Linked DNA regions of Homo sapiens: all the other regions are linked to region 1. Evidence: promoter capture Hi-C in 16 types of primary human blood cells and fetal thymus (Javierre and others, 2016). All regions are on one chromosome and are shown on one strand. Each heading gives the region's core, a stretch centred on a gene start or on the middle of the fragment in contact. The rest is flanking DNA. Distances are from core to core; before and after follow the strand shown.

Evidence for each region. The method cuts DNA at HindIII sites, captures the fragments that hold promoters and counts their contacts. A CHiCAGO score of 5 or more calls a contact.
Region 2: a contact is called between a fragment that was not itself captured here and the fragment with the promoter of TWF1 in region 1, in 2 of 17 cell types (erythroblasts and M1 macrophages). The highest score is 5.9, in erythroblasts.
Region 3: a contact is called between a fragment that was not itself captured here and the fragment with the promoter of TWF1 in region 1, in 1 of 17 cell types (activated CD4 T cells). The highest score is 6.1, in activated CD4 T cells.
Region 4: a contact is called between a fragment that was not itself captured here and the fragment with the promoter of TWF1 in region 1, in 1 of 17 cell types (activated CD4 T cells). The highest score is 5.9, in activated CD4 T cells.
Region 5: a contact is called between a fragment that was not itself captured here and the fragment with the promoter of TWF1 in region 1, in 1 of 17 cell types (activated CD4 T cells). The highest score is 7.1, in activated CD4 T cells.
Region 6: a contact is called between a fragment that was not itself captured here and the fragment with the promoter of TWF1 in region 1, in 1 of 17 cell types (activated CD4 T cells). The highest score is 8.4, in activated CD4 T cells.

What each region holds. Positions count from the first base shown.
Region 1 is chr12:43,804,911-43,807,918 of GRCh38, reverse strand. It overlaps TWF1 (twinfilin actin binding protein 1), which reads left to right and starts at 1,602. Exons shown (of 9, transcript NM_002822.5): 1 at 1,602-1,698. The coding sequence starts at 1,674. It also overlaps a transcript of TMEM117 not described here. RefSeq lists a silencer at 1,427-1,906. The HindIII fragment of the contact is 5,668 bases long and covers 1-2,757 here.
Region 2 is chr12:44,940,330-44,943,337 of GRCh38, reverse strand. No RefSeq gene overlaps it. Among named protein-coding and RNA genes, the nearest start is that of NELL2, 66 kb to the right of the region's middle. The HindIII fragment of the contact is 488 bases long and covers 1,188-1,675 here.
Region 3 is chr12:44,868,999-44,872,006 of GRCh38, reverse strand. The region is part of intron 2 of NELL2 (neural EGFL like 2); the gene reads left to right. Among named protein-coding and RNA genes, the nearest start is that of NELL2, 5.8 kb to the left of the region's middle. The HindIII fragment of the contact is 2,514 bases long and covers 185-2,698 here.
Region 4 is chr12:44,851,301-44,854,308 of GRCh38, reverse strand. All of the region lies in intron 2 of NELL2 (neural EGFL like 2), which reads left to right. Among named protein-coding and RNA genes, the nearest start is that of NELL2, 24 kb to the left of the region's middle. The HindIII fragment of the contact is 786 bases long and covers 1,073-1,858 here.
Region 5 is chr12:44,830,887-44,833,894 of GRCh38, reverse strand. The region is part of intron 2 of NELL2 (neural EGFL like 2); the gene reads left to right. Among named protein-coding and RNA genes, the nearest start is that of NELL2, 44 kb to the left of the region's middle. The HindIII fragment of the contact is 1,078 bases long and covers 852-1,929 here.
Region 6 is chr12:44,806,995-44,810,002 of GRCh38, reverse strand. The region is part of intron 3 of NELL2 (neural EGFL like 2); the gene reads left to right. Among named protein-coding and RNA genes, the nearest start is that of NELL2, 68 kb to the left of the region's middle. The HindIII fragment of the contact is 2,182 bases long and covers 356-2,537 here.

The DNA of each region.
Region 1 (3,008 bases), core at 353-2,852:
GGTATTATTCTCATGACAGCTCTGGCAAATGTTCACTAAATGGAGACACAATAGATGAAGAAAAGTGGGAAAATATTTGTGGCTAGAGCAGAGCAAGGTACCCAAGACGCTTGCAGCTTTTAAGTCAAACTATTGTACTGGCAGTAAATAAGCACTTTCTGGTGGCTGTCAGGGTGGTCCCAACCTAACTAGACATTCCTCTTCTTCAGGACTGAGAATACAGTGGCCTTTCCCAAGCACGAATATGGAAGGATTATATTTTGCTCAACTATACTTTTGAGCAACGCCAACTTCCTTAAGCAATTTCCCCGAAGCACTAGGACATGAATCAGTCAAAATACTGCAAGTCAACTCTGCAATTTTCTCTCTGCTCAGCAATGTAGTCAAAAACTGGTAAATCAGGGTGAACCATTGTGTCAGGAAGAATTTGATTAGAATGAAACTCCTCCCTACATTTCTTAAATCCATACAAGTCATAAAACTCAGATTTAGTTTATTCCTGAATATGAGAATATGTCTGAAAAACAGAGCTCAGATAACAGGCAATAGAACATAACCTTGTTTGCTGTGATTCTTGTAAAGAAAAACAATTGCAGGCCTGTTCATCACTCATGAAAAATACATCGTATAGTACTGGAACAGTGATTAACTTGCACTTATATTATTGACCTGAATAAATTATTTCTTCATTAGCAGATTATAATTTTGTGTATGTGTCACTTCAAGGCCCTAAAAATAAGAACTAGCTTCCCACCTAGTAGCAGTAGAGAAGCAGTACCAAAAAAAAACCAAACCCCCCACAAAACTAACATTACCTTTCAGGAAGGAACTACATGTTTGTAAAAGCAGGAAAGGAAAAGATTTTTAAGTAATATCTGCTGCTACCTTACAAATCTGTCCAAGTGAATTTTGAATAATTACTGGATTAAATAATAAACTGCCAACCTAAAGCAGAGCAGGATTTGCAATGGTATAATCGACCACAGAGGGATACTCAAATCAGCTAATCTCTTAGTGGCTGTCTCTTTCCGGAGTGAAGAGAAAGATACACTGAGTCTCTAAATGTGTCCAGCTGAAAAGAAAAGTTAACAGTCTGAGATTAACTTAATTTAAAATCGTGGAAAAATTTGATGAGAGGCAGTCTATATTAATTCTTTCAAAACAATGGAGCAAGGAGAAGGCTTTTCTACACTAAACGGTATCGATTATAGGAAGAGTAAACCAAGAAAAATAATGTGCACATCTTTTTTAAGCTGGAAAATGCCTATTTGGTAAAATGATCACTTCCGTTTTTGAGCACCCCTTTGCTGAGGCAGCGAATGGCGGCGTCGGCGGGGTTGTCAGAGAGCAGACGTCGGAGCACTGAGCAGTCTAGATTCTGCGGCATGTCCCCCCCGGAAGAAGCGGGAGAGGCGGCGGCAAGAGCAGAAGCAGGACCCCAAGCAGAGAACTAGGATAGCGAGGCCGGGGGCTGGACCGCAGCCCGGCGGCCAGGAAGGGCGGCGGGGCGGCGGGGACGCTCGGGCACTCAGTCAACCTCACGGGGCGGGGCGGCCGCGGGTCGCGGGCGGATGACGCGCCGGGGCCGGCGGAGGAGCAGCCACTTCCTGGGGCCGCCGGCCGGGGCCGCTGGCTGCACTCAGCGCCGGAGCCGGGAGCTAGCGGCCGCCGCCATGTCCCACCAGACCGGCATCCAAGGTAACAGCGCCCGGCGCGACTCGCAGGGAAGGGGCTTCCGGGAGAGCCGGGAGAGCCGGGAGGGCTGCAGGACCGGCAGGGCTGGAGTCGGGCCGGGAGCTCCGGAAGTCGGTCTCGCGGGGCGAGCCGGGCCTCGGCGCCTCTCCGCGCTCCTGCTTCCCGGGCGCTGCCGGCCTGCGTCCTCCTCCAGCCCGGTCCCTGCTGCCGTCACGTTGCAGATTGATCCGAAATTCGGGGGAGCGAAGGAAATTGGCTTTCGAGGCGGCCTGGTTGAAGGGGGCGTGCCTTCCACCGTCCCCGACAGTCGCCCAACTTTCCCCCTTTTGGTCACGTAGGGAAGAGCTGGGACAGTGGAGGCGACTGGGGCTTCAGTACGCTGTCGAGAACCAGGCGAGTTTTCTTTTTCATGGTCCAAAGGAGAATATTACAGGACTTTGATTACAAAAAGAACCATGCCAGAATCTTTCTCACATCAGTAGGGGTGCTTCCCAAAACTCTCCCGCATTTTCTCTCCAAATAGGAAAATGAGAGTTATGTTCTGAGAAATCTCGAGTGTAAGCGTGTGTTTTGATCTTTTTCCTAGATACTCCCCAAGGGAAACTGATCTGTATGGTTGCATGTAATGCGTGCAGACAGTTCAATATGCAGTTATATCTGACCTCCATTATTTCCTGGTTTGAAATTGGGCAGCCTGCAGGTACTCACCTCATCAAGAGTCAAATAATATATCCCCGGGTTACTCGCGATCACTTAACGAGTTCTAGTGTAAACTCAAGCTCTTACTGTTAATAGCGAGTCTTTCTCCCAGATGAACACTTAATTGTATGTTTTATTCGTAAAGATTTTTGACACCACCGCACACATCCCCCTGCACGCACGCAGAAGCAAAATAGTCTCAAATCTGAAAACTTTGTTTTATTTATCCGCATTAATTTCGATATATAAATATGTAGTTATTGACTCTCATGCTTGAGCCTTATAGCAAGCACTACCTACTTACATAGTGGTTCTTGCTGCTAATAGACAACACAGGAACGAAATTAGAACGAAATTGAAGCTTTAATAGGAACACAAGGGTTAGTTATTAAATACATATTTATTCAATGAGTTTAATCTAGCTTTTGAGAAATGCAAGTTAGAAAAATATAACCAGAGTTAAGACTGAATGCATTTTATTGTCTTTTTCTTTAAACAAGTTAGGATATTTGATATATACTGTTGTTTTTAACGGGAAAATACAGAAAGTGAATTGATGAAGGAGTGTCTGTCATAAGCTTGAAACTGAATTAGAGAATGAAAGCAGGTTTTCA
Region 2 (3,008 bases), core at 182-2,681, 1.1 Mb before region 1:
CTTGTTCTTCACTCTCTGCTGATGACTTTGCTTCTTATCTTGCTGAGCAAACAGAAGCAATCAGAAGATAATGATATTTTCCCACCACCTAGTCTCTCACATCTGAATATTTCTATTACAGAGGAAGGGTCTCTGTCCCCATGTTAAAAACAATCCCTTTACTTGTGCACTGGATTCCATCTCTTTTCACCTTCTCAAGAATTTGCTGACATAATTATCTCTGTTCTGTCTTGCATAATCACTATATCTCTCTTCTCCCTGCTGTAATGTGCTGTAATATTGATCAAGGGAGAATAGAACCCTCGTTCGCTTTTATGTCCCCTATAGCTACCGATTTATTGACCACCCTTTACAGCCAACCTTAATGTCTCCACGGTCTCAGCCCATATCCTCATGACAAATCGAATCAGGCTTCCACCTTGATGGGATTCACCTTTGAATCTTTAAATATTGACTTTTAAGTAACAGAATGTTCCAGAGCTCAGTCCTTGGCTCTCTTGGGTTTGCTGAAATGACTGGAATTACTAAAATCAGGAGAAGTTAATTTCATAGGTTTAATAAGAGGCAATTAGAACTGTTGAGAAAAAGGGAAAAAGCATTATTTATAAGAAGGGGGAAAACATTTATGATCATTTTTATGCCAAATACTACTTTATATCAGATAATTTAATGCAAGCAATTCACTTATGATAAATTCAGTTCCACAGTATTTTGGGGACTGGCAGTGGTGGAAAGGAGATGGAGAGACTCAAAGAAAAAGAAGAAGAGGTCATGACAACATGGTTCTGAAACTGGTCAGGTTATTATCCTAATTTAAATATGGAAAATCAAGAGCTAAATCAATACAAGAACTAGAACCAGAATTCTTGGTGGTTCCAGGTCTTCTGTTAAGTTATTTGCCTCCCATATTGATATACAGTAAAGAATAAAGTGCGGCTAAATTATACATTTAAAAGGTATTCAAGTGGAAAATTGCTGGAAAGGGTAATAAAATAACAACCACAAAAATACAATTTTCCTTGGCATTTTCAACTTAATTACCTCAGAGCTGCTCAGATTTTCAGCCAGTCATTACTAGGATTTTTGCATTGGTACAATTAGATTTTCTTCTTGGAAACCCATTTTTGATGAAGAACAAACTGGAATATAGATGGATCATTATGTTTTATTATTAAAATTTCAAAGCTTACACTTTGAGAAAACTCATGATATTAAAATACCATAATAAAGTCGCTTAACCACCTTAGAGGTTTTTCTATATAACATCATGATTTGAGCATACTTTGTCTATTTAGATTTGAGTTTTGGTGAATATTGTAAAGGTTAGAAGTTTGGATATGCAGTTTATACTAAACCACTCTAAAAATATAGTGCTAATAATGATAGCTACTTTATTTTGAGCAACTACATACAATTAACTATTTATATCGGCTATAACTTTTATCCCTTACAATGACTTGATGAAGTGGTTTTATCATCCTTCACAGGAAGAAACCAAGATTCAAAGATATTTAATAATTTTTCCTTGGAAATTAGAAACATGCTCACATTCCTCTTACCTCCAAAGGAAAAGGAAAAGGAAACCGTTAAGTGTCAGATACTACTCCTGGATCTTTTGTGTAACTATCTTGTTTAATCCAAAGTAGGAGCTAAGAAATAGATTGTAATACAAGCTTTATAAGAAGCACTTTGTATTCCATGAGTACAAGTCTGAATGGCATTTTAAATTAGAGAGACTTGCAGTATGTTATAGTGACTTCCCCCATTTCAGCATCGCATTTTGTATGTGATACTTGAATCCTTGACCCTACAGAGAACTAAAAGAATTATTTCACATCAAGCTTTTTCCTCTTATCTAGTGACTGCTGAAACATTTCTTCTTTCCAAACCAGTTTATAAAACTGTTGGTCCTCACCTAAAAATAGAGTTGCTGTGAATTAGATTCTTGATCTGTATACATATGGCACAATCATATGAAATAGTTTTTTCCTGGCATACATTTCCTTTTTCAGCATTTAAGCACACAGCAAGTATAGGACATTTTGAACTTTTTATTTAACATTGATTTCTTTAGAGAGCTTTACATCCATTTGTTGTTTAAAAGTTGGTATTTTTGTTTCTTTTTGCAGCCAAACACTTTGATAATATTTTGAGGTAAATGCCTGAAGATGTCCAAAAAAAGTAAAAGTCATAACAGAAATTGGATTTCAAATGGTTCTTTGTTAAGAAATGACTTATAACAAATTCTCTCTCTGTGTTTGCTACTAACTATTCCACAATCAAGTGTTAATGTTTTAGGTAAAAAATAAAGTCAAGGGAGGGGTGTGAGTGGGAGCTAACGGTTGAGAGAGGGCCGAGCATGGTGACTCATACCTGTAATCCCAGCACTTTGGGAGGTCGAGGCAGGGGGATCACTTGAGGTCAGGAGTTCGACAACAGCCTGGCCAACATGGTGAAAGCCTGTCTCTACTAAAAATACAAAAAATAGCCAGGCGTGGTGGTGCGTGCCTGTAATCACAGCTACTCGGGAGGCTGAAGCAGGAGAATCACTTGAACCTGGGAGGCGGAGTTTGCGGCGAGCCAAAATCGCACCATTGCACTCCAGCCTGGGCAACAGAGTAAGGCCCTGTCTCAAAAGACAAACAAACAAACAAACAAGCAAGTTGAGAGGTCAGAAGCAAAGAGGAGAGAATTGAAAACAAATGCACCACACTGGGAGATTTAAGTCATCTTTGTGGGAAATTTTAATTTTTCTCCCTTTATTCTTTTTTGTTCTCTACCATGTTAGCAAGCTGCCTCTTTAGATTTTTATTTAAAGAAAGATTTTTTTTTAGAAAAAAAATCACACCAAGTTTCCACCTACAAATAAAAACATAGATATAAGATGGAGATAATTTTTCTTTTATCTGTTGCCCTTGTTTGATCAGGATATTTTATAAAAATAGATCCAGGACTGAAAAACTGCAAAACGAGAGCTTTGTAAGTGACAACCTTAGAAATAAATCAGT
Region 3 (3,008 bases), core at 192-2,691, 1.1 Mb before region 1:
TTTTTAGATCTTTGATTTTAACAATTAATCTGGCCAGGTTCCCAAAGTAGATAATTTCCTCTGTTGGTTTAATACAATTTCTTCTGAAGTGTTAACAGATTTTATAATCTCATTAATCCATAGAAGAGAAGTGGATAAAATCAAAGCATGTTTTTTTTACAAGTTGTTAAGTTGAAAATAAGCTTAGTAGTTATTTGTAAAAAACTTTAAGGTTTTAAAGGGAAAAAAAGGTCGTACGTCTCCTCTTATGCCAGTGTTACGCAGAGTGAAATAGGCATTTGGTAATAGACCATGGACTTTAGTAGGCAAAGGTAACTGCATTGAGGAAATCGAGGTGGCACTAATTTGTCTTCAGTATGATGGTTGGTGAGCATCTGTGGACTTTGAAGTGATGGCTGTTGGTGCCCAAATAGTGTGGAATAACACAGTGTTTAAGAGATGCACTTAGAAACAAGATAGACTGAGGTGGAATTTCATTAGTTGTTTTACTGTGGTGAAGTTACTTAATTTCTCTAAGCTCCAGTACCCTCAATTATAAAATGATCATTGTTATGACAATTAAGCGAGTTACTTTCATTCTTTCAAATAAGTTATTTTTGGGAAACTAGCATACTGCTAGGTGTTAGGCACATAACAAATGAAGACGTTAGAACTTAACTTTGATTTCATAGTGTCTTAAAAATAGCCGTTGAACAATTACATAGTTACAGACCTAATCACCATTAAGATAAATTATATGAAGAAAAACTGAAGATATAATGGGAATCTATATTTTAGTTAGGGGAGTCTCAGGCTCAGGGAAACCATCTTTGAAGAATAGTCATTTAAGCTGATAGTTGAAGGATATGTAAGAGTAGTCCAAAGAAGAGAAGCTATGGGGATAGGCAAAGGGACTAGTGTGTGAGCAAGGTTCTGAGCATGGGATGAATGTGCATTTGAGAACGTGGAGGAAGTCTAGAGAAGTAGAAACATAGGGCATGTGATATGAAATAAAGTATATGAGGAAAGCAGGAACCAGGTTACATGGTAGGCTATACTAATAGAGCAGAATTGAAAATTTATCATTATGGAAATATATATTATGGTGGGCAGAATAATGGTCCTGCATAGATGTTCATGTCTTAATTCTTGGAACCAAACAATAGGTTACGTTATACAGCAAGGGGAAGTTAAGTTTGCTCATCAGCTGACTTTAAGATTAGGAGGCTATCATAGGTTATCTGGGTGAGCCCTGTGTAATCAGAAGAATCTTTTGAAATGGGGAGAAGGAAGCAGAATAGTCAGTGTAGAGTGATGTGATATGAGAAAAACTAGTCTGGCCACTGGTGGCTTTAAAGGTGATAGTGGGCCACAAGCCAAGGACTGCAGGCAGTTTTTAGATGCTGAAAAAGGCAAGAAAATGAGTTTTCTCTTACAGCCTCCAGAAGGAATGTAGTGCTACTGATACCTTGATTTTAGACCAATGAGACTCATTTTGGACTTCTGATCTCCAGAACTGTGAGATAATAGATTTGTGTTGATTTAAGTCACTAAGTTTGTGGTGATTTGTTTGAGCAGCAATAGGAAACGAATACAAATTTTCCTGCATGGAAGTGTGGTGCTGGTGTAAGAAATACCTAAAAAATATGGAAGTGGCTTTGGAACTGGGCAATGGGCAGATGCTGGATGAATTTTTAGGAGCATGATAGAAAAAGCCTAGATTGCCTTAAATAGACTTTCAGTAGAAATATGGTTATTGGTGACTCTATTATTGAGGACTTAGAAGAAAGTGAAGAGCATGGTAGAGAGAAAATCTAAATCACCTCTGAATATTCCTAAATTATCATAAGCGAGCATTGGTTAGGTATAGACATTGAAGGAACTGCCATTGAGGGCTCAGATGGATATAAAGAATTTTTATTATAAACTGAAGGAAAGGGGACCCTTCTTACACAGTGGCAGAAAACTTAGCTGAATTGTACCCTGTGGTTATGTGGAAAGCAAAACTTGTAAACAATGAACTTAGATTTTAGCTAAGGTGATTTGTAAGCAACAAAAGTGTTGAAGGTGCACTCTGGCTTTTTCTTGCTGTTTGTAGTAACGTGAGAGGAGAGAGAGAGATTTAGGGAATAATTGTTGAGCAAAACATATTCATAACTTGATATTTGAGAAATTATCAACCTATTCAGATTCCAAAACATGTTAAAATAGGATATTCACTGTTAGGAATACCTAGTCTGAAAAGAAAGCCAAGGATGTGACTAGAAAATATTTTGCTAGTGCCTCAGAAATATCAAAAGGTCAGAGTATTCAGTTACATTGAGGGCTCTTTGAAGAACATATGACTCATAGATCCCCTCAACCATTTCAGCAGAGGTCACAAATAGAGATGGAATTATCCAAGAAATATCTATGGAGGAGCCTTTTTTGTTTAATGGAGTGAATCCCCATGACATACATGGGAGATCTACAAGGTTCTTAAGAATATTATGGCAGTAAAATTGCTGCTGGTGTGGCCTGAAAGAATCAGTGAGAGAATAAAATGAAAGAAGGTGTTGGATCCCCAAAATTCTACAAGCAAAAAACAGGCTGACTTGGCTGTCAACATCTTTCTATGAAGCTACCTTTCATGAAAAAAGAAGGTTAATTCAAAGGGCAGAACTCAGAGCCCAGAGCATGGAGCTGACTCCAGAGGGTGGAACCAATAATTACAGAAGCTTATTTCTAGACCTTGAAACCAAGTGGTGTTTGCCTGGCTGGATTTTAAAGTTGCTTGGATATGGCAATTGTTTTTTTTTCTTTCTTCCATTTTCTCCCTTTTTGAATGAGAATATTTAGAACTATCATCTTTATCTGCCTTACCATTGTGTTTTTGAGAGCAGATACTATGTTTCAAGGTGTGCCTCAGAATGGATTATATGCAGCGCCTTTCTCATACCTGTTTTAGATGATTTGGATGATGAGATTTGAGACTTTTGTTTTTGTTTTATGTTTTGTTACTTAAAATTTAATTATTTTTAAATTGACAA
Region 4 (3,008 bases), core at 216-2,715, 1.0 Mb before region 1:
TATGTATTCTTAATAGTAGTGATCTACTTTATTTCTTCCATACACTGGTGTTTTAGGGCTTAATCTATTTTGCTTGTCTATTTAAATTGAGAATCCCCTAGGCAAGCACTGTGTCTAATTCTATATCTGTACAGTCTAACACATTGTACTGATGGACCATTAAGTGTCCCAGAAAAAATGCCAAATAGGTTAAGTATTTCAGAGCAGAACGTAACCTATATTTTTAGAACTTATTTAAATTTCCAGTGGTAATTAGTAGCTGGATATCTTTACTATGAATTGCGTTTGTTGACACATACTTGTAACTGAGCAGAGTTCTTCCTGGAGACTGATGGATTGTTAAGAAAGGCATATAAAAATGTTTCCTTTAGGCTACCAATGAGATGCAATGCTCCTAGTAACTGAACGTTGAACCTGGATGTTTTCTGAGAGCCTGTTGACTTTGTTTGGAGGAGGACATGTCCTTCACTGATGTATTCTTCTCACATGTCATCAGATTGCTAATTATACTATAAAAATAGATTTATTTAAAGTATATGAGTACTCCAGAGAGGCAGCTTATTTTATGACACTATCATTCATATGTTTGTTTTTCCTTCTGAGACTGATTTTCATAAGTTCTGTTGTAATGTAAGTATTAGTGTTACTGCTTTTGTTAATACTTTCTATTCCCTGATGTTCAGATTGAATTTTTATGTAGGATACCTAATAGATCGTTTAATTCAACCAACTCAGGAAAGCACTATGACTCTAGGCTTTATGTTTTTGCCTTTCAAATGAAAAGAGGGATTTTTTCACTCTAGGAGAAGAAATATCATATCCCAAATAAAGGGGAGAAATGTTTAAAATGTCTCAAAGGAGGAATTGTTCAGTCCAAATTTGACTCTAAAGAATTCAGACTTGGGTTTGCCTGGGATCTTAATACACTTAATGTTTCACTATTATTTTGAAGGAAAATGCGTAGAAACAACTTTACCAATTTCCTTAAACTTAAAATCCAAAGGTCAGAAATTGGACTTTTAAAATTCCTAACTCAAATCTGGATTGTCTTCACTGAAATCTTTCTGAAGCTTATTATTAATTTCTATGATAAACCATAATCCTGAAGATATGAGACACTTTTAAGTTATACATTTTTATAAGACTATTATGTTATGGGTTAAAATGAAGACATATTTGAAGTTGAAATGCAGTGGATATAAGAACTTGATTGGATAAGAACTTGATTTGGAGCATGGGAATTCACAAGAAATGAGGCCTCTAAAGGGAAAGAAAAGAAGGCAGAGTAAATGTATATTTATTGCCACTCACCTTGAAGACACTAAGCCTCTGATGTAGAGGTCAATTTTTTAAAAGTTGCTACAAAAATTTCATTATCCTTATCATAGGTGCCTCTACAATAAAGCATCTCATAGTACATTTTCATCCCTTTGCTGCTGTGGGTTCAATTTTTAATAATTGGGTTGCATTTCCAGGAAAATTGTGCAATTTAAATTGTTCTTTGATAACATACTTTCAAATTAGAACACGTTTCAAAGACTAATGGAAAAAAATGAGCATTCACTCTGAATCATTGACCAGGCAGGAAACTGTCGAGTGGGGAGAACCCACCTATTTAATGGATGATTACTTTTTGTTATTTTGGTCAGCAAATTAGTAAAGTCAGAGGGTGAAGTTGGGAAAATGCCAGTTAGCTTGTGGAAACTTGCAGGCTTATTTCTAAAACTTTTCAGGACTGATGTTAATTACACAGGCATCTGAAAAGCAAAAATGGGTTTTAAATGAACACTATCTTAGCTGTCTCATGAAGAAAAGAGAGGGAATGTTTAAACTGTTCCCATCTGTGTGTAACAAAGCTTTTCTCTCAGGGGAAAAACACAGAATAGAGGTGCAAATGCTGAGCTACCTCATTTTAGACTTTCTAAAGTTATATAACAACATGACAAATATGTGCTACTGGAAAATATTGTAGGAAAGGATTAATTTTCTCTTCCACACTGTCTTGATAGAAGAAGTAGGTAAGGAAAATCTAATTTGTTAACGTTTTTTTCCAGCAGTGTATGTTAAGATATGAATCTGTAGAAATACATTCTTTAGATAATTAAATTGAGATACGGAATTTCAGGCAATAGGCTCTTCATTCAAAGAAAAAGAGTAAATCAAATCCACTGTTGATATTGACGGTGAATGCATTTATATTTTAGTGGATTAAATGGAGAGAACTCATTCAAAATAAACCTGTAAAAATACAAGAGGGAACAATAGAAGGTGAAATAAATGTTATTTTTGTGTTTTTTTTGCAGAGATACTTGCTTTTAATTAGAGAAGTTAGAACCAAATGTACTTAAAAATAAAAGATCAAATGCTTTTGAAGGGCAAAATCTGTTCTTATGGCATTGTAGGTTTTGAGCAAGAACAAGATATGGCATAAGACTCCACAAAACAGATTCAGCTGTCAGTATGTGATGCGTGAAAAGACCTGGGCACTGCTGGCTCTGGAACTTGGTCTCGCTGGTACAGATTGTTGCCAACCTTGGAAACTGAAATAGGCCATTTCGCACATGGCACATCATCCCTCTGTAGGAGGAATGGGGTTTATAAATGTTAGTTGGCTACTATTCCCTCCTCCAGATAGACTGGTGAAGCATTTTTTGCATTTTGGTTTTGAAAGCACTCTTATGTTTAGAGCTGTAGTTTAATTCTATCTTTAGCTATAGCTGTAAATTAAAAAAATTACTGGTAGTAAAAATGACAGCAAAGTCATAAGCAAGATGCTAAAAAGGATTGAAACAAGATCATACTTGACTTCATTTATATCATTCTATTTTTTATTTGTGCATATTTTGTTATTGGCATGCAATCATAAACAAAGAGTCCAAATTTTGGCTTGTCTGAGGTTTTAGAACATTTAATATTTCATTATTCTGAAAGGAAATGCATAGAAATGACTGTTAAATTCTGTAGCAAATTCTTCCTGAAGTTTAACCATTAATATTTATTTATAGATA
Region 5 (3,008 bases), core at 141-2,640, 1.0 Mb before region 1:
AATAGGATTTTAAATCCTAACAACTTTCCTAGCCTGGACTAATGAGATAGTTGGACCGACCTGGTAATTAGTATGGACTGTGCCTCCCAGGACCTCCCATAAACCTTTGTACAGCATAAATTGTGTCTGTGTGTGAGATTATCAGGTATTACCTAGAGCTGTACCGCGAGTCCAAGGTTGTAAACCTTGCTTCAGTGGAGAATTAGGAGGGAAGGGGAGTAACTTATTCTTACACAGCAAGATAGGCACATTGTTTTGTCTTCCAAGCCTTGGAAAAGAAAATTCATTGAATTTCATTCAACAAATTTTTATTGAACCCTTCTCTCTGTCTTGGGCTATAATTGCTGGTAGTTATTGGGGTAGAAGAGAGGTATAGTACACAGTTTTGTCCTTAAGGAGATTAAAATCAGTCTTTCTGAGGATGTAAGACTGGCATATAAAGCAATTAGGCAAGAAACAGAGAAAACTATAAGGCAGCACAAAGTAGTACACTGAAAAATAATGAAAATGTGTAGTAAAGCTATCAGAGCTGTGGACTATCATGAAAGGGAGAGAACTGTCAAGAAGATGGGATATGAGATGTCAAATTTTTATTGCAGTATAATTCCTGTATGATTTTGATGCCCAGTTCTCCTCTGTTTTAAAGCATAAAATATAGTGAAGAAATTTTCTATAGACCACTTTGTAGAACACCCAGGTTTTGCTTGAATTTTAAAAAAGGAATGTTATACAACAAAAGAAAACAAAAAGCAAAACATTTATTTGTTAAGTGTTCTGAACGTTCTGTGTAGGCCAACTCACAACTACCCCCAAAACTGGTGGTGGAATTGGGAAAAAGTAAGTGTGAAGCTTACATTTAGCTCTGGAAGGTGTTTCTGGGCATTCAGTTAGTAATTATTTTCTCTGATAATCTAGAAATTTATAACATTGCTAAGAAAATACTCAAACCACACTATTACCATTGTACCTGTCAGAAATTTAGGTCCTCCGTTATTCCTTTTTCTAGGGAGATGTTAATCTTAGAATGCTAGAAAGGACTAAGTTCTTTTCATAGAGCTACAGTCCTCATGCAGACCTGCCAGTTCATAATTTCCAAAGGGAAAGGAGAGTCTTTTGGTCTTAATATGTAACAATATAAAGCACTATTTTAAATGTTTTTGTATGTGTTCTAGTTTTGTTCATTGTGGTTGTTATCTACTCTACCTTTAAATCATAATATTAAAATAGGTGGCAATGCCAAGAAATGTTGAGGACAAAACGAATCTGTAACTTTTACTTAGTTACTTGGGCAGACAATATGCTCTTTGTTATGAAAAGGCGTGGAAGTAGGTGGCAAAGTCATGAATGAACAAGACGGTCAGCTATACTTATTGATTGTTTTCTGCATGCAGATCACTGTGCTAAAAAGGAGAATTACAGAATTGATCCCTACACCTGGAAAGCATATCACACAATGAGAGAAGAAAGGATGCACACCAAAATATGCATATCAACACCAGTGATGAAAACTAGTTAATAGGCATTTTCACTTCCTGTCTTTTCCACTTTCATGACATCTAGTACTTGCTTTAACTAAGCCTCTTATCACATTGTTTTGGTCTTCCATTCTAGACATAATCAACTAAAGACATAAAGAATTTCTTTTTATCTTTGGGAAATTATATCCATATCTGTTGATTCCAGGGGTTGGTTAAAACTGTGGCCCCAAAGGCCAATTTTGGGGCTCATTCTTATATGGCCCCTTGAGCTAAGACTGGTTTTTACATTTTTAAATGCTTGTAGAAAAGAAAAAAAGCAATATGGAATAGAGGTGTATGTGGCCTGAAAAGACTAAAATTTTTACTCTCTGTTTTTATACAGAAAAAAATTCTTATCCTCATTTTACAGAATGAGACCCACGGGGAACATTTGAACGAGTCATAGGAAGCTTGGGGAGATGGATTACTTAGGGAATAGGCTAAGTTCCTGTAACAAAGAGACCCAAAATGCAGTGCTCAAATAAGAAAGAAGATTATTTCTTTTTTATATAACAATCTAGAGGCAGGCAGGTGGTTCCGGGCTGATGCACAGTCCTGCCACCTGAAATTACTCACGGACACAGTTTTTGTCTGTCTTCTAACTCCACACTGCCATTTTCCTCATGGAGGACATTCCAGTCTGAAAGAAAAGAAGAGTGGGGACAATCAGTTCCTTTTTAATAATAAAATATGGATCATAACGCCTGTCACTTCTGCTCACATCCCAGTGGCGAGGATTTACATCACCTGTTCACTTTAGCTGAAAAGGATATAGGGGAATGAAGTTTCTATCTGGGAAACCATGTGTGCCCTGATAAAAGTAGAGAGTTTTATGACTTAGAAGAGGAAGAGAGTTATTGCTATTGGAGGACAGTTAGCAATCTGCCACAGAGAGGTAAACAGTTCATGGTACTGGATTATTCCTGATCTTCATTGCAGAATTCTCAACATGATCATTATGTAATATATACTGAATATTTACTATATACTCAGTATATATTTGTTGAACTCATTAAAGTGAGCAGAAAACTGGAAGCAATACTTAGTCTAGGAATGGTCACTTAGGGAGTAATCTGTTCGTGAAATGGGAAAGACACAAGCATGGTGGGGTCAGATGTGTGGCTCCTGGGAATGGTTAAATTAGCGCTAGAGATTATAGAGCTCCCAGTAAGGTAAAGTACAGAGATTAGTTTAGACAGTAAGTGAATCTTCTGTATTTTATACAGGGGTAATATTGGTATTTAAATAGTGAGTTTAATTTAAAGAAAACTCACAATGGTGGGAAAAACTTCAAGAGGGTGGTAAGATGGGGCTGGTGGTGGGTTGTGAGTATAAGCAGGAGTTGGGTGTGGTGTCCAATGTGGTAAATGGGGCAAGTCCAGTCCCCCCACAGATTAAAGTCATGCAGGCAGCATGTGATAGATCTAGAATTCTGACACTTTTAAAGCAAAATTCATGAATTCCTGAGGGACAACAGAGAGAGAGGGAGAG
Region 6 (3,008 bases), core at 197-2,696, 1.0 Mb before region 1:
ACTAACTGGCAGCCACTGCCTCGAAACAGCTATAAGTCAAGTTCTTAGAGAATAATGACAACTGTAATAAGCTATATGGCAACATCTCAGCCACGGTGTTAATGCTGGATATCTAATCACACAATTTTTTTGGTTTGGACATATGGATTAATGGGCATGCTCTGGATTCTAGGGTATCTGAAGTGAACTAAAAGCAAGAAGAAAGTAGGAAGGGCAGATGATCACACTGTTGCAGAATTAAGAAGAGGGCTTCAGTCAAACCTTGGCACTGAAACATAGCTTCAAACCAAGTGGCATAATTATGAAACTCCCGGGAACTCCATCAGCAGTGCCCTGGTGTGCCATGAACAAAGCTTCATTTGGCCTCCCAACCTGAGATGCTGGTTTCAAATGGTGTTCCTTAAATAGAGGCTGATATTAAAAATTAAGCCACAAACTTCATGTGAGCACAGTGTAAAAAGAGTTTTGGCTCTTCAGTCATTTCAGTATGTTCACCATCAGCAGCATAACCTAAAAAAAACCAGACAGTAATATATGGCAGTTGTTGGAAAGAGTTAAGACACTCAGGCTGATTAAAGGAGTTCTCTCATTATTATAGTTTTCTGACTATTGTGTTTCGAAAGGTAAATAGAGAATAGAGAAATATTTTTAACATATTGATTCATTTATCCATTTATACAGGAAACAGAAGAGAAATATGAAAAATATAAAGGATTGTTGAAAAGCAAAAGTATATTTATCAGTAAAAATAAAAGAAATTTATTGAAAATTCCAAAGAAACTGTTTCCTTCTTCCATGTTTTACAAAACTGCAGTTTCTTCAGGATAAATAAAATCCTTATGTTATCCTTCATGTGATTTGGTGTAGTTGCCTAGATTCTGTTCTGTGGTTTATAATATTTCTTCTTTATTTAAAATAATCTTGGACTTTAGATATACAAATTTGTTCCAAGGGGTTTATTAGGAATTTTGCTGATATCCAGGCATTATTTATGCTTCTGACTTTGAATGCTTTGCAGATAGCATACATGGAGATAATTTGTGGCAATAGCTTTGCAAATAAATATTAAACTGTCCTGTAGTTTGTCATCATCTTCTGTATTAATAAACTTCAGGTGAAATAAATGAGATTTTTCTATCCTCTTAATATTAATTATACATTCTGGGTGAGTAAAAATGTATTTATGTATGAGGCTGAAAAAATGTGTCTTCATGTTTGTGAGTGCTTGTCATGTATTAAGCCATTTTTCTTTCTTGACATTAGTAAGTAAAAATTAAACTTGCTGGCAATATTTGCTTGGCTTAATGGTTCTGAACTAAAAAATGACTTTGTTTATTATGGAAGAAATTAATAGACTGACATAAAAGCTACTAAACTCATTACTTTCTGCTTGCACTTTATTTAATAAATAACTTTAAAGATAATAGGATTTATAAATTAAAATTTCAAACTCCAATTTCTACATAATTAAAAAACTTTACTTAGATTTTATTTTCTTGAAGTGTTTCTATATCATTATTTATCTCTCACAAAATTACATCTCTGTTGTGTATTTTAATACCTCCCTTATTATTAGGAAAGTTACAATATATATTCTAATGTAGCCAAGCATACATATATCACTACCAAGTAGGCATGGTCAGGTGCTCATCAAAGAAAGTAAATTAAAACAAGCAAATGGAATTTCTCATCATAATTTTTATATAGGTGATGTGATGGACAGAAATACACATTTTAACACACAGAGGTTATCCCATAGAGCACACATCCCCCGTTTCACACTAAAGAAGCGAGGCATTTTTTTTCCCTTCCTGTCAGCAGTCCACTCTTTCTGCAGGGTCAAAGAATGAATCAGTTGACTGCTGCTGCCGCAGCCCATAGACTAACCAGCCCATATTCACTTTCATTACACATTTTGGGTATTTTCCTCCTAGATGGGGATGCAGAGGACCAAGAATATTTCCAGGCAACCATCCTATTCTGACCATATCCAGTTATCAGGCCCTAAATATCTTAGGCCATTGCAAGACCCTTCTGTGTCATCCATCTTGTAGCTCCTTCACATCTACTCTCTTCGCTCCCTATGGACAGAGTACTGGAATTTTGGTTTTTGTGTAAGCAACTGTCATTAAGGAGCAAGCAAACTGTGTTTTGGAAACCAACTTGGTGCTCCTGCTTGCAATTTCTCATACTTCCCGTTTCTGTGTTGCCATATCATTTCTTTATAAATGGCAGGAAAGGTGAATTGTTCATTGGAAATAATTGGCCCATGTAACTTTTAATGATCAGTCTGCTACTTTTTTAAAGTTATTTTTTTCTTTTCAGCATTAAAAAATATTTCTAATGATTAAAAACTTTTTTAACCTTTTCTTCACTTGGGAATAAAAACTTTTGAGATTATAATTTTAGTTCTTTCTTGTTTTGGCTTTGCTAAAAATTTGTGACTTTATTATTTTCCCTTTTGCCATTTTTTAAAACATTGACGTCTAAATTTTAGGAGTCTATAGCTCTTCCTGATTTTCTTTAAGACAGAAGCTTATCATATCTCGATGATTTACTATCTAATACCATGTTTCATAGAGATGTCGTTAATGAACGGATATTTTTTTTTGAGTCATTGGTCCAGAATTCTTTCTGCATGCATGCGTGTGTGTGTGTGTGTGTGTGTGTGTAAAGAGCAAAATCCATCAAATGTATAAATTCCTATTAAATATAATGTTTTAGACAGGAATATTTTGTATTTTTTCTTGTAAATGATGCCTTATAATTAAATGCAGTGACATTAGAGGCTCTGACTTTGCTGAGCACTTAATTTTTTTCTTTAAGAGGATTTTTGCATTTCAAACGTTGCTTCTTTATATGTGTTTATTATTTGGTTGTTATTTCACTTAATATCTTCCTCGTAGATTTTTTTCTTTTTTTGAAATGGTTTTTCCTATCCTGAGATCAGGTAGTCTTGCTTTGTAAAAATATAATTTTTTTATGGTTTCCCTGTCTTAGTCTTGAAC